Linked DNA regions of Homo sapiens: regions 1, 2 and 4 are each linked to region 3. Evidence: promoter capture Hi-C in human tissues and cell types (Jung and others, 2019). All regions are on one chromosome and are shown on one strand. Each heading gives the region's core, a stretch centred on a gene start or on the middle of the fragment in contact. The rest is flanking DNA. Distances are from core to core; before and after follow the strand shown.

Region 1 (3,470 bases), core at 849-3,348, 220 kb after region 3:
GTCCAGGCGCAGTGGCTCACACCTATAATCCCCAGCACTTTGGGAGGCTGAGGCGGGCGGATCACAAGGTCAGGAGTTTGAGACCAGCCTAGCCAATATAATGAAACCCCACCTCTACTAAAAAAAATACAAAAATTAGCTGAGCGTGGTGGCAGGTGCCTGTACTCCCAGCTACCCAGGAGGCTGAGGCAGAAGAATCACTTGAACCCAGGAGGCGGAGGTTGCAGTGAGCCGAGATCGTGACACTGCACTCCAGCCTGGGCAACAGAGCAAGACTCTGTCTCAATAAAAATAAAAAATATTAAAAAAATAATAACTTTTAGGGCTGGGCGTGGTGGCTCACGCCTGTAATCCCGGTGCTTTGGGAAGGCAAGGTGGAAGGATTGCTTGAGCCCAGTAGTTCCAGACCAGCCTGGGCAACAAGGCAAGACCTTGTCACTACAAAAAATTAGCAAAGAAAAATAAGTAAAAAATAAAATTGATTTAAACATCAATATCCTAGTTGTGATATTATAATATAATTGTGTAGCATGTTACCAATGGAGGAAACTGGGCAAAAGATACATAGGATCTCTCCTTATTATTTCTTACAACTGTACTTGGTTGTAAGATTCACTGAATGCAAATCTACAATTATCTCAAAATAAAAAGTTTCATTTTTTAAGTTAACTGAGCACGGTGATATGTACATGTAGTCCCAGCTGCTCAGGAGGCTGAGACTAGAGGATCACTGGAGCCCAGGAATTGGAGGCTGCAGTGAGCTATAATCACGCCACTCTACTCCAGCCTGGGTGACAGAGCAAGACCCCATCTCTAAAAATTGGAAAAATAAAAAGTTTAATTTTTTAAGTTAAAAAATCTTTATTCTGATTATAAATATTCCATCTATTTTAGAATTTTATTCATTTTTTCCTTTTCCTTATCTTTTCTTTTTTTTTTTTTTTTTTTTTTTGGAGACAGGGTCTCACTTTGTCACCCAGGCTGGAGTGCAGTGGTGCAAATACAGCTCACTGCAGCCTCAACCTCCCAGGCTCAAGTGATCCTCCCACCTCAGCCCCCTCAGTAGCTGGAACTACAGGCACGCTCTACCACGCCTGGCTAATTTTTGTATTTTTTGTAGAGACAGGGTTTCACCATGTTGCCCAGGCTGCATTTTGCGATTTTTAAAATTTTTTCTCTAATGTATAAGGAAGAAAATTAAAATTAACCATAATTTCACCACCCAGAGACAATCAGTTAGCATTTTAATAAATAGGCCCATAAATAATCTTAAAATTAATTGGCATTTGGGTGTGGTGGTGCACACCTGTAGTCCCAGCTACTTGGAAGACTGAGACAGGAGGATCATTTGAGTTTGGGAGGTCAAGGCTACAGTGAGCCATCATCGTGCTACTGCACTCCAGCCTGGGCAACAGAGCAAGACCATGTCTCAAAAAAAAAAAATTATTTGCATTATAGTTTTCAGTCCTGTTTTTTCATTTGATGTTATATTTTGAGCATATTCTCATGTAATCAAATTTTTTCAAAAACATTATGACTACATAATGTTCCCTTTTTTTTTTCTTTGAGACAGAGTTTCACTCTGTCATCCAGGTTGGAGTGCAAGGGCATGATCTCTGCTCACTGCAACCTCCACCTTCCGGGTTCAGGCAATTCTGCCTCAACCTTCCAAGTAGCTGGGATTATAGGCACGTGCCACCACATCTGGCTAATTTTTGTATTTTTAGTAGAGACGAGGTTTCCCCATGTTGGCCAGGCTGGTCTCAAACTCCTGACCTCAGGTGATTCACCCACCTCAGCCTCCCAAAGAGCTGGGATTACAGGCATGAGCCACTGTGCCTAGCCCATAACATTTCATCTTATGCCAAATTCATTTTATCGACCTCTTACTTTTAGGCACTTACGATATTTCCAATTTTTTCTTTCTCTTTTTTTTTTTTTTTTTTTTTGAGACAGGTTCTTGCTCTGTTGCCTAGGGTGGAGTGCAATGGCACAATCACAGCTCACTGCAGCCTCAGCCTCCCAGGCTCATGTGATCCTGTCACCTCAGCCTCCCGAGTAATTAGAACAACAGGCACATGCCACCACACCTGGCTAATTTTATTTTTATTTTTTGTAGAGACAAGGGTCCACTATTTTGCCCAGACTGGCCTCAAACTTCCGGGCTCAAATGATTCTCCCGCCTCAGCCTGCCAAAGTGCTGGGATTGCAGGTGTTACCCACCGTGCCCAGACAGGATATAATTTTTTTAAACTCAATCCCACAAGACAGGATATAAATTTTTAAGTACAATTTACATACAATAAAATATGCAGGCTGGGCGTGGTGGCTCATGCCTGTCATCCCAACGCTTTGGGAGCCCGAGGTGGGAGGATCATTAGAGCCCAGTTCGAGACCAGCCTGGGCAACATGGCAAGACCCTGCCTCAATTTTTTTTTTAAAAAGCAGATCATAGGCTGGGCATAGTGGCTCATGCCTGTAATCCCAGTACTTTGGGAGGCCGAGGCGGGCAGATCACCTGAGGTCGGGAGTTCGAGACCAGCCTGACCAACATGGAGAAACCCCGTCTCCACCAAAAATACAAAAATTAGCTGGGTGTGGTGGCGCATGCCTGTAATCCCAGCTACTCGGGAGGCTGAGGCAGAAGAATCGCTTGAACCTGGGAGGCGGAGGTTGCGGTGAACCAAGATCGTGCTATTGCACTCCAGCCTGGGCAACAAGAGTGAAACTCCGTCTCAAAAAAAAAAAAAAAGCAGATCATAAATGTTCATTTTGATGAGTTTTGTGGGGGTTTTTTTGTTTGTGTTTGTTCATTTTTGTTTTTTATTGTTGTTTTTTAGAGGCAGAGTCTCACTATGTTGCCTAGGCTGGCTTTGAACTTCTGGGCTCAAGCAATCTTCCTGCTTCAGCCTCCCAAGTAGCTAGAAATATAGGTGTGTGCCACTGTGCCTGGCTTCCATTTGATGAATTTTGACAGTTGTCAAAATTCAACCACTACCCAAAACAAGATAGAGAACATTTCCACCACCAATTCCCTACTCCCACAAAGACAACTAACTACTCTCTGACTAGGACAAGAGTGTTTTTAGGCCAGGCGCGGTGGCTCACGCCTGTAGTCCCAGCACTTTGGGAGGCCGAGGCAAGTGGATCACGAGGTCAGCAGTTCAAGACCAGCCTGGCCAAGATGGTGAAACCCCGTCTCTACTGAAAATACAAAAATTAGCTGGGCATGGTGGCACACACCTGTAATCCCACCTTCTCGGGAGGCTGAGGCAGAGAATTGCTTAAACCTGGGAGGCGGAGGTTGCAGTGAGCCGAGATTGCAGCACTGCACTCCAGCCTGGGCGACAGAGTCAGACTCCATCTCAAAAAAAAAAAAAAAAAAAAAAATAGAGTGTTTTTAAAGCTTTCCATATGCAGTTCAGTCCCAGTGTATTAGGGAATCTGCATCCTTTGAGGATGTGAGGAAT
Region 2 (3,536 bases), core at 166-2,665, 140 kb before region 3:
AAGTGCTAGGATTACAGGCGTGAGCCACCGCACCCAGCCAAGAAAAACTATTTATATTCTCATGCTGAAGCTCAGCAAAGAAGCATGCCAGTACAGCAACAGCAGTATTCCAAGGGGGCAGCTAGGCAGCATCCTGAGGACCAAGATCCACATCTGAGAAAGGAGCTCTTGTAATAAATCTGGAACCCTGGAAAATTTTTTCACTCTCTAAGGAAAAAATCTCCAAAAGCCTCAGTTTCCTCATCTGTAAGATGGTTGCAAAATGCCCCAGTGACTGTAAAGATTAAATGAGCTAGTTTTCCTAAGAAAAACCCCTTATCCTGTGGTTGGCATTTAGGAGTCACCCAATAAATGCTAACACATATTCATATCCTTCTTTCCTTTATAAGTTTTAAAAACTTTTACTTATTTTTATTTTTATTTTTTTTGAGACAGAGTCTCGCTCTGTCGCCCAGGCTGGAGTGCAGTGGCGCAATCTCGGCTCACTGCAACCTCCGCCTCCTGTGTTCACGCCATTCTCCTGCCTCAGCCTCCCGAGTAGCTGGGACTATAGGCACACACCACCGCGCCAGGCTAATTTTTGTATTTTTAGTAGAGACGGGGTTTCACTATGTTGGCCAGGCTGGTCTGAACTCCTATCCTCAGGTGATCCACCCACCTAGGCCTCCCAAACTGTTGGGGATTACAGGCGTGAGCCACCACACCTGGCCTAGCATTAAAAACTTTAAACCTGTCAGGGCACGGTGGCTCACGCCTGTAATCTCAGCACTTTGGGAGGCCACAGCAGGTGGATCACATGAGGTCAGGAGTTCGAGACTAGCCTGACCAACATGGAGAAACCCCCGTCACTACTAAAAATACAAAATTAGCCAGGCATGGTGGCACATGCCTGTAATCCCAGCTACTAGGGAGGGTGAGGCAGGAGAATTGCTTGAACCTGGGAGGCGGAGGTTGCGGTGAGCCGAGATTGCGCCACACTCCAACCTGGGCAACAAGAGTGAAACTCCAACTCAAAAAAAAAAAAAAAAAAAAATTTTAAACCTAAGATCTCATATGATCAAACTAGAGAGATCGCAACTTAGGAAGAAATAGTGAAACCCAACTTCAGAGAAGTTAAGTGCCTTACCAAAGGCCACACAGAAATTAGCTGCAGAGCCAAGATTGGAATGCAGAGCTAAGTCTTTTGTTTATTTGTTTGTTTGTTTTTAGACGGAGTTTCGCTCTTGTTGCCCAGGCTGGAGTGCAATGGCCCGATCTCGGCTCACCGCAACCTCCACCTCCCAGGTTCAAAAAATTCTCCTGCCTCAGCCTCCCGAGTAGCTGAGATTACAGGCATGCACCACTACGCCCTGCTAATTTTGTATTTTTAGTAGAGATGGGGTTTCTCCATGTTGAGGCTGGTCTCGAACTCCTGACCTCAGGTGATCCACCCGCCTCAGCCTCCCAAAGTGCTGGGGTTACAGGTGTGAGCCACCGCGCCCAGCCCTGTTTGTTTGTTTTGAGACAGGGTCTCACTCTGTCACCCAGGCTGTTGTGCAGTGGCACAGTCATGACTTACTGCAGCCTCGACCTCCCAGGCTCAGGGGATCCTCCCACCTCCGCTTCCTGAGTAGCTAGGACTATAGGCGTGCGCTACCACAACCAGCTAATTTTTGTATTTGTTTTAGAGACAGGGTTTTGCCATGTTGCCCAGGCTGGTCTCAAACTCCTAGGCTCAGGCAATCCACCCACCTCAGCCTCCCAAAGTGCTGGGATTACAGGTATGAGTTACTGCACCCAGGCCAGAACTGCTAAGTCTTAGTCCAGGGTTTTGTCATCTATAGCACATAAATGTCCCAAATCTTTTTGTAAGTAAAACCGTTTTCACTAATCATTAAATTTTGCATAAATCTGAGTGGTTTTTTTTTTGGAGATGGAGTCTCACTCCGTTGCCCAGGCTGGAGTGCAGTGGTATGATCTGAGCTCACTGCAACCTCCATCTCCTGGGTTCAAGCCATTCTCCTGCCTCGGCCTCCTCAGCTGCTGGGACTACAGCCATGCGCCACCATGCCCGGCTAAGTTTTTTTATTTTTAGTAGAGACGGGGTTTCACTATGTTGGCCAGACTGATCTCGAACTCCTGACCTCAAGTGATCCGCCCACCTCGGCCTCCCAAAGTGGTGGGATTACAGGTGTGAGCCACCATAAATCTGAATTTTTAATATAGTAACCTCATTAGTAACTGGACCAATCTACAAGGAATTCACTCTAGGGAACCTGAGCCCTCTGAACCCTCTTGGCTTTCCCCAACAGGACAGTGCCTGTGACAAGCTCAGGAACAAAGGAACACAATAGTCCTATTTCCCAGATTTCTTCTTCCGAATATTATTTACTACCAGTTTTATCCTTGACCTTGAAGCTGAGCCCAGCTAAACAGACTACCAAGATCCTTCCACTTGGCAGGATCCCTTTTTAGCCAGAAGGCAAGACCCAAGATGCATAATGTCCAAGGCTCACTCTAGCCACGACATTCCTCTGCTCTTGAAATGCCAGCAGAAATTGTACCATAAGGCAATGTTCAGTAGATAAGCCATCTCTAAGTATATGTAGTATGTTAGATGTTGCAAATGCCACAGAGAAAAATAAAGCAGGGAAGGGGGACAGGGGTTTGTATAGAGGGAAAGATAGGGCCATTTTAAATAGAGCGGTCATAGAGAAGGGGACATTTGAGTAAAGATCATTCTCTGAAACAAAGACAAGATCAGCTCAAAATATAACCTTTGTAGGTCTCAGTTACTTCATCTGCAAGGCAGGGATACTTCAGGACCTACCTGGACGCAGGAGACTTAATGCCTCCGAGGAAAGTGTTTTTGTGGTTAAGAGCACATTCTACTTTAAGCTTTGCTTTGGAAATTTCCTGTTCTATGTATCAACACAGAGTGGATATTACTTTCTCTTTAAAGATGAGGCAACTGAAAGGCTGACTCCCTCAAATTTACCCTGTTGGTAAGTAGCAGAGGTGAGAGTAGAACCCAGGTCTTCTGACTCATAATCCAGGGCACTTTTCTCTATAACACATGGCCTGGACTGAAGCTACAGGCAGTTCACATCTCATAAGGTGACAAGGGTTTCCCAATGGCATGCATCAGACTAATGATGGCATTCTGCATTTACTTCAATATCTCCCTCCAAGGATCTTAAAGCACTATATAATTTTAAGAGCTAAGGGAGTTTTATTTTGTCAAGTGATGCAAAACTATTTCACCAAGGCCCTCAGAAATGGCTTACTTTTCATTGTCAGACCTTAGTCAATCAATTAATATTTATCAAGGGCTTTGCTAAGTATCTAGCTCCAAGTAAGGAGCTATAGAGTACCTATTTTTTAAGAAAAGAGAGAGATGTAATTATGAGTATCCCAATTCCTGCAATTAAGTTGTTTTAATAGTAGTTACTGAATCACTTAATTTTTCCTCCTTTTTAATCCCTTTAAGCTTTGCCTTGAAACTTCATCATGGGCTCTTGGGATCAGGAAAGAAGTTTTGTAAGTCCAATTCTTAT
Region 3 (3,391 bases), core at 691-3,190:
GATAGAACACTGCTTTCTAGCCCTTACCTAGGATTAGAGAATAAAGTACCTATCAGGTAACAAATCTCTTAGAGATGTGTGTCTCTACCTTTAATGTATAATACCTATGCCTGGAGATCTGGATAAAATACAGATTATGATTCAAGGGTCTGGGTGAGGCTTGGATTCTGCATTTCTAACAAGCTCCCAGGAATGCTGCTGGTCCATGAACCACACTTTGAGTAGCAATTCTAGAGGTTAGGGAAGACTCCTGTGTAGCAAAGATGTTTAGGCTGAGAGCTGAAGGATGAGAAAAATGTGACTAAGAAGCTTTTTAGGTGCAGGAACCAGCTTGTTCAAAGGCCTCGTGGCGCTGGGAAAACTAGAAGAAGGTCTGTGGCTGGAGTGCAGAGAGTTTGGGGAAAGAAGTGAGATGGAACTACAGACAGCATGTGACCAGGCATGTAGAACCATGTATGAGGTATCTAGATTTTTAATATTCACTTTGACAGTGAGGAGACACCACTGAAGGCTGGTTAGCAGGAAAGATACATGATCAGATCTGTATTTTGAAAAGATCATTCTATCTGACTATAAATGACATATGGGTGATAAGGAGGTATAAACAAAGCGGACGCTGAACACCAGTTAGGAATTAGGGAGCTAAAGTGGTCTTTGCAACAGGTAGCTTGACTAATAATGGTAGAGATGGAGAGATGTGGGATGTCTGAGAATATATAGGAAGTAAAATGGGCAGAATTTTGTAAAGAATTCAACATGGATAAGGAAGAGAAAGCTCTAAAGGCTGTTGCCTGAGCATTTGGCCACAATGCGATGTTGAGGGTGCCATTCGCTGCAGAAAAAAGCAGTGGAAGCCAACCAAGTTATGGGGGAAAAGCAAAAATTTCGTCTTGAACATATTGAGTTTGAGGTCCCTGTGAGTCATCCAAGGTGAAGGTCAAATAAGAGGTGGCTTCATAGGTCTGGAGCTCAGAACAGAGGTGGAAGCTGGAGATGTCAGTCTGGGCGTCAGGTTTGTATTGTTTGTATGGGTGGTGATTGAAGCTGTGGGCATAGGTAAGATCCCAAAGTGGAGACAGTGTGAGATGAGAGGAGGGCCTAGGACTAAGTCTGTGAGGATTCCAGACACTGAACCATGGTGTCTAAATGATACAGACGGGAATGGCCCTAGAAGCCAGCACCACAGCCTCATCACTACCAATACAGACCCCTCCTGCAGTTGCGTCACCCCGCTGGACTTCAATCATTGCCTCAAGAACCGGGAGGATAATGGCCTGCCCATGCTCAGCACCAATGCCATGAGCTGGAAGACGATTTCTGCAATGGAGAAAAGGGGAGCAAGAGAGACTCAGCAGCAAAGGAAGAGAGTGTTTAGAGGAAGAGGGGTCAACAGTGCCAAATGCTGTTGAGAAATGGAGATTCAAACAGGATGGGAGTGATGAAACCCAAGAAAGTGGTCTCCTTGTAGAGGACTGAAGCTAGGGCTGATACAGGGCCAAGACAGTCTTCCATATGCATAAGTTGTACTGTAATAGCCAGTTTACATGTCTGTCTCCCTGGAGTAAAGGTCTCCAAAGTGGAACTTGTCCACCCTGTTATCCTTAAAGTCTAGTGCAAGTCCTGGAACGTAGTGGACACTTAAATTTTACTGATTAGTGAATGGGTGAATGAATGAATGAATGAATGATGGCAAATGATTGGAAGCAGAGGAAGAATCTCTGGCATCTGCCTGGACTAGCTACTATCCTTCAGCTTTTTTTCTTTTTTACCGCAATGGCCCGCAGACCCAGGAAAGAGACGACAGAGCCCCCCTTCCCTCCCTCCCCTGGGCCCTGGCCCCCCTTCCTCTCTCTGACGAAGAGTCTGGACCGAAGGTTCTGCTGACGTGGGAAGGGGAGGAGAGTCTAGAGGAAGGGGAGGGGAAAGCAGCGCAGAGATCGCAGAGACCAAGGAGGCGCCCGCGGCTGCAGAGCTGCAGAGCGGGATCTCTTCGAGCTGTCTGTGTCCGGGCAGCCGGCGCGCAACTGAGCCAGAGGACAGCGCATCCTTTCGGCGCGGGCCGGCAGGGCCCCTGCGGTCGGCAAGCTGGCTCCCCGGGTGGCCACCGGGACCCCCGAGCCCAATGGCGGGGGCGGCGGCAAAATCGACAACACTGTAGAGATCACCCCCACCTCCAACGGAGTAAGTGCCCGAGCCCCAGGTGGCGACGCCATCCTCTCCCAGCACCCCCGCCCCCGCGGAGCGTCTGGCATTTTCCTCCTGCGCATCCCTCGCCCCTGACTGCCTTCCTAGCCCTCCCTCCCACCTGCCCCCTGCCCTTGCTCTGCGGTTTCCTCCGCTTCACCCTTCTCCTGCCACCCCCTGCCCCCCAACAGCAGGTCGGGACCCTCGGAGATGCGGTGCCCACGGAGCAGCTGCAGGGTGAGCGGGAGCGCGAGCGGGAGGGGGAGGGAGACGCGGGCGGCGACGGACTGGGCAGCAGCCTGTCGCTGGCCGTGCCCCCAGGCCCCCTCAGCTTTGAGGCGCTGCTCGCCCAGGTGGGGGCGCTGGGCGGCGGCCAGCAGCTGCAGCTCGGCCTCTGCTGCCTGCCGGTGCTCTTCGTGGCTCTGGGCATGGCCTCGGACCCCATCTTCACGCTGGCGCCCCCGCTGCATTGCCACTACGGGGCCTTCCCCCCTAATGCCTCTGGCTGGGAGCAGCCTCCCAATGCCAGCGGCGTCAGCGTCGCCAGCGCTGCCCTAGCAGCCAGCGCCGCCAGCCGTGTCGCCACCAGTACCGACCCCTCGTGCAGCGGCTTCGCCCCGCCGGACTTCAACCATTGCCTCAAGGATTGGGACTATAATGGCCTTCCTGTGCTCACCACCAACGCCATCGGCCAGGTGAGGCGGCCAGGCGGGCCGCGGGTCTGGGGGCGGGCAGAGAGCGGCGAGGGCGGGGCCTCACGCCCGCTGCACCCTTCTCACATCCCCAGTGGGATCTGGTGTGTGACCTGGGCTGGCAGGTGATCCTGGAGCAGATCCTCTTCATCTTGGGCTTTGCCTCCGGCTACCTGTTCCTGGGTTACCCCGCAGACAGGTGAGGGCTGTCGTGGGGGCAGGGCTGGTAGAAAGGAGGGGGTGCTAGGGAAGCTAACCCAAGCAGCGGGCGTTTACAGGAGGTCGAAGACGATTCGCTGGACTCTGCAGTCTTCTCTGGACTTCTATTCAATGGTCTATCCATGTCTCAACTTCACTCTCCATCAAGAAATACCCCTTCCCTACCTCTTCCGCGCAAGGGAATGACTCGACCTCTATGGACTATTAGTCCCATTCCCACTAATTAGTGGCCCCCTATCCGTGAATCAATGGCCTCATCTCCAAAGAGAATAGTCTCATCCCCACTAACAGCCCAC
Region 4 (3,490 bases), core at 230-2,729, 200 kb after region 3:
CAAGATCTGTTTCAAAACCACACTCCCCACTGTGCACTTTATAGAAGCTGGGATCAAAGCGCAGTTTATGAGGAAGGGCTGCTTTGATTTTTTTTTTTTTTTTTTTTTGTCTGTTGTGTGGCTTTTTGTGGGTTTTTTTTTTTTAACGTTTTTCTCTTTCACCAGTCAAGTTATATGTATAACTTTATCAGACAAGTTATGTTACATGTACAATAATCCAGGTGCGGAAGGACTTTATAATGTGGGCCCCTCACCCGCTCTAAAAAATGTCTTGAGGTGGGGGTGGGCGGGGAATAGAGAAGGATTCTAGGAGGGTTCTGTGAAGCTGGATCCGTGTCTGCCCACTCCCCCACACCTCCAGGCCTCTCTGGGTCTTTGACGAGGAAAGACTGTTCCGTGTGGCCTGCGTGGGCAGAACTGGAACCTTATCAGAGCCTTGGGTTGTGTGCGTTAGAGGTCAAACAGGCCTCCGTGTTTTCTTTGCCTATCAGCGCCTTTTGGCAGCCGGCACTGCTTACCTCCTAGATCTGGAAACGCCTGCGGTTGGACAGGCCAAGCCGAAGCGGCTTTTCCACAATTAGAAACACGTGCTCAGTTCCTTCCACAAGCGGGGGAGGCGGCCAAGGAACTCGGTGCAGCCAATCACAGAGCCGAGCGTAGCCACACCCACGCCCCCACAGGCCCGGCTTCCCTGCCCAGCGGCTCCAACCTCCAGCCTGGGCACCCAGACCCAGAGGGCTGCTGGGAGGGACATGCCTCACCCCTTTTGCTCCAGCTGGAGGGGAGGGAGTCTGTGGGAGCTGGCCAGAGCGTGGCAGAAGGCAGAGAAGTGAACGCCCCAGCAAAAGGTGAGGCTGAGAAGCCAACCCTTCTGGCAGGCCATGACCCAGGTGAAATTTATGGCGTTTCAGAGGGCTGGGGAGCTCCATCCAGAAAGGTGCCTGTTTTGCAGGTTTGGAGAGGAACAGGGCGTTCTGATTTCTACAAAGTGGCGTCACTGCTTCCTTTTTCAGCAACCGTCTGCTTAGTACATTCCATCTTGCTGTTTTCAGTCCTGGCCTCTCTCTGTTCTGCTCCTCTCAAGCCCTTTTTCTCTCCCACTCATCTGCATTGTCCTCCCCTTGCTCTCTCCCGCCCTGTGGTTTCTTGTGCTCTTTCCCTCTCTTCTTCACCATCTGTCTTTATGGACTTTGGCAAGTCTGGACATTTTTCCCCCTTTCTACTGCCTGTTTTCACTTATCTGAACAGACAAGGAGGAGTGGCCTGGTTCTGGAAATGTTAAAGGAAAACCAAGCCTTTCCAAGCCAGTCCAGTCCACTCCTGAGAAAGGTGCAAGCCAGCGAGACCGAGAAATCCAAATGGAGTTCCGGGAGTTTGGAGGGAACATGTGACTGTGACATTGATTAAGGGGGCTGGTGGGAGGGGACCCAAGGTGGAGATCCCTGTGGGAAATGACTTTCTAAAGCCCTGGGAGCAATGGATGCACCTTTCTTGGTTTCTGAGGCATAACTGTGAAAGTCTTCCCCTTTTGCCATATTGGCATCTTCCTTCCTGCTGCACAGAAAGCAGTCCAGGCTGGGGCTAACCAGTGTCTTGGTGACAGACCCAGAGTCCCAAGTGGCACTGGCAGTAGTGACCATGGGTACCACTGACCCAAGCAGGAGGAGAGATGATGTGGGAGCGGCCAAGGGAAAGCAGAGTGATCTGTGTATAATGAAGGAAGGCGGGGCAGAGGCAGAACAAGCAACTGGGAATTGGGCTGTCCCAGTCTGGTCTTTGCTGCGAATTAGCTGGGGTCTAAATTCACTCACATATAAAATGAGGTTCTGGGGCCGCCATGGTGGCTCACAACTGTAATCCTAGCACTTTGGGAAGCCGAGTCAGGCAGATCGCTCAAGCCCAGGACTGGGAAGCTGCAGTGAGCTATGATCATGCCACTGCACTTCAGCCTGGGCGACAGAATGAGACTCCCATCTGTAAAAGAAAAATAAAATGAGGTTCTGGGTCTCTAAGGTCATTCCTGCCTTCTGATCACCCATGAGGCTGGACACAAGCCTTGGGTGGTAGGGCGCAGGCTTCAAATATTTACCTCTAGGGCCAAGAGTTGACTACAAGGAGAGTCCCAACTGGTTCATTCTTCTTAGCACTGTCCTTATAACAACCAATCCAGCCCCGTATCCAGGTGGCCCTATCCCAACCTTTACCCTGTCAGACCAGAATAGTGTGGCTCATCGAGTGGCAGCTGGCTTAGTAGAAGAAATGAGATTGGTTCAGGGATCCATGTGGGAATGTTCATTGGCTCCCTGAGGGAGGCACAAAATGACCCCCTGCTGGCCCAGCTCAATGAGAAGCCAGAGTCCTGTATCCAAAGCAAGGGAGCACCTGAAAACATCACCGGGTGTGGCGGCTCATGCCTGTAATCGCAGCACTTTGGGAGGCCAAGGCAGGTGGCTCACTTGAGCCCAGGAGTTCTAGAGACCAGCCTGGGCAACCTGGCATAACCCGTCTCTACAAAAAATACAAAAATTAGCTGGGCCTGGTGGCACACACCTCAGCTACTCAGGAGGCTGAGGTGGGAGGATCACCTGAGTCTGGGGAGGTTGAGACTGCAGTGAGCCATCATCATGCCACTGCACTCCAGCCTGGATGACAGAGTAAGACCCTGTCTCAAAAAAAAGAAAACATTGGTGGCTCATGCCTGTAATCCCAGCACTTTGAGAGGCCAAAGTGGGCAGATTGCTAGAGCTCAGGAGTTCAAGACCAGCCTGGGCAACATGGCGAAACCCCATCTCTACCAAAAATACAAAAAATTAGCTGGGCGTGGTGGCACATGCCTGTGGTCCCAGCTACTCAGGAGGCTGAGGTGGGAGGACTGCTTGAGCCCAGGAGGCAGAGATTGTAGTTTGCCAACATCAGGCCACTGCATTCCAGCCTGGGTGACAGAATGAGACTGCTCTCAAAAAAAAGAAAACAGTTATCAAGTAGTCTCTCTCTGGGAATAACGTGTACTCTTAGTGAGCTTTTTTTTTCTTTGCTTTTGTTTTGTTTTGTTTTTGTTTTGTTTTGTTTGAGGTGGAATCTCTGTCACCCAGGCTGGAGTGCAGTGGCACGATCTTGGCTCACTGCAACCTCTGCCTCCCAGGTTCAAGTGATTCTCAGCCTCCCGAATAGCTGGCATTACAGGCATGCTAATTTTTGTGTTTTTAATAGAGACAGGGTTTTGCTATATTGGCCAGGCTGGTCTTAAACTCCTGAACTCAAGTGATCTATCCGCCTCAGCTTCCCAAAGTGCTGGGATTACAGGTATGACCCACTGTGCCCAGCAAGCTTTTTGCTTTTTTTTTTTTTTTTTTTTTTAAGAGACAGGGTTACCCAGGCCAGCATGCAATGGCACAATCACAGCTTACTGCAGCCTTGAATTCCTGGGCTCAAGTGATCCTCCCACCCCAGCCTCCCTTGTAGCTGGGACTACAGGTATGTGTCACCACAT

Evidence for each region. The method cuts DNA at HindIII sites, captures the fragments that hold promoters and counts their contacts. A contact is called where the count stands out against the background at its distance.
Region 1: a contact is called between a fragment that was not itself captured here and the fragment with the promoter of SLC22A17 in region 3, in 1 of the 25 tissues and cell types used here (psoas muscle).
Region 2: a fragment that was not itself captured here is called in contact with the fragment with the promoter of SLC22A17 in region 3 in 2 of the 25 tissues and cell types used here (IMR-90 fibroblasts and lymphoblastoid cells).
Region 4: a fragment that was not itself captured here is called in contact with the fragment with the promoter of SLC22A17 in region 3 in 1 of the 25 tissues and cell types used here (spleen).

The regions. Positions count from the first base shown.
Region 1 is chr14:23,131,920-23,135,389 of GRCh38, reverse strand. The region is part of intron 7 of SLC7A8 (solute carrier family 7 member 8); the gene reads left to right. Among named protein-coding and RNA genes, the nearest start is that of CEBPE, 14 kb to the right of the region's middle. The HindIII fragment of the contact is 3,545 bases long and covers 326-3,470 here.
Region 2 is chr14:23,495,637-23,499,172 of GRCh38, reverse strand. No RefSeq gene overlaps it. Among named protein-coding and RNA genes, the nearest start is that of NGDN, 28 kb to the right of the region's middle. The HindIII fragment of the contact is 8,706 bases long and covers 1-3,536 here.
Region 3 is chr14:23,351,436-23,354,826 of GRCh38, reverse strand. SLC22A17 (solute carrier family 22 member 17) reads left to right here and starts at 1,940. Exons shown (of 10, transcript NM_016609.7): 1 at 1,940-2,181; 2 at 2,376-2,879; 3 at 2,972-3,075. The coding sequence starts at 2,086. The HindIII fragment of the contact is 16,780 bases long and covers 1-3,391 here.
Region 4 is chr14:23,151,617-23,155,106 of GRCh38, reverse strand. All of the region lies in intron 3 of SLC7A8 (solute carrier family 7 member 8), which reads left to right. Among named protein-coding and RNA genes, the nearest start is that of SLC7A8, 30 kb to the left of the region's middle. The HindIII fragment of the contact is 7,030 bases long and covers 1-3,490 here.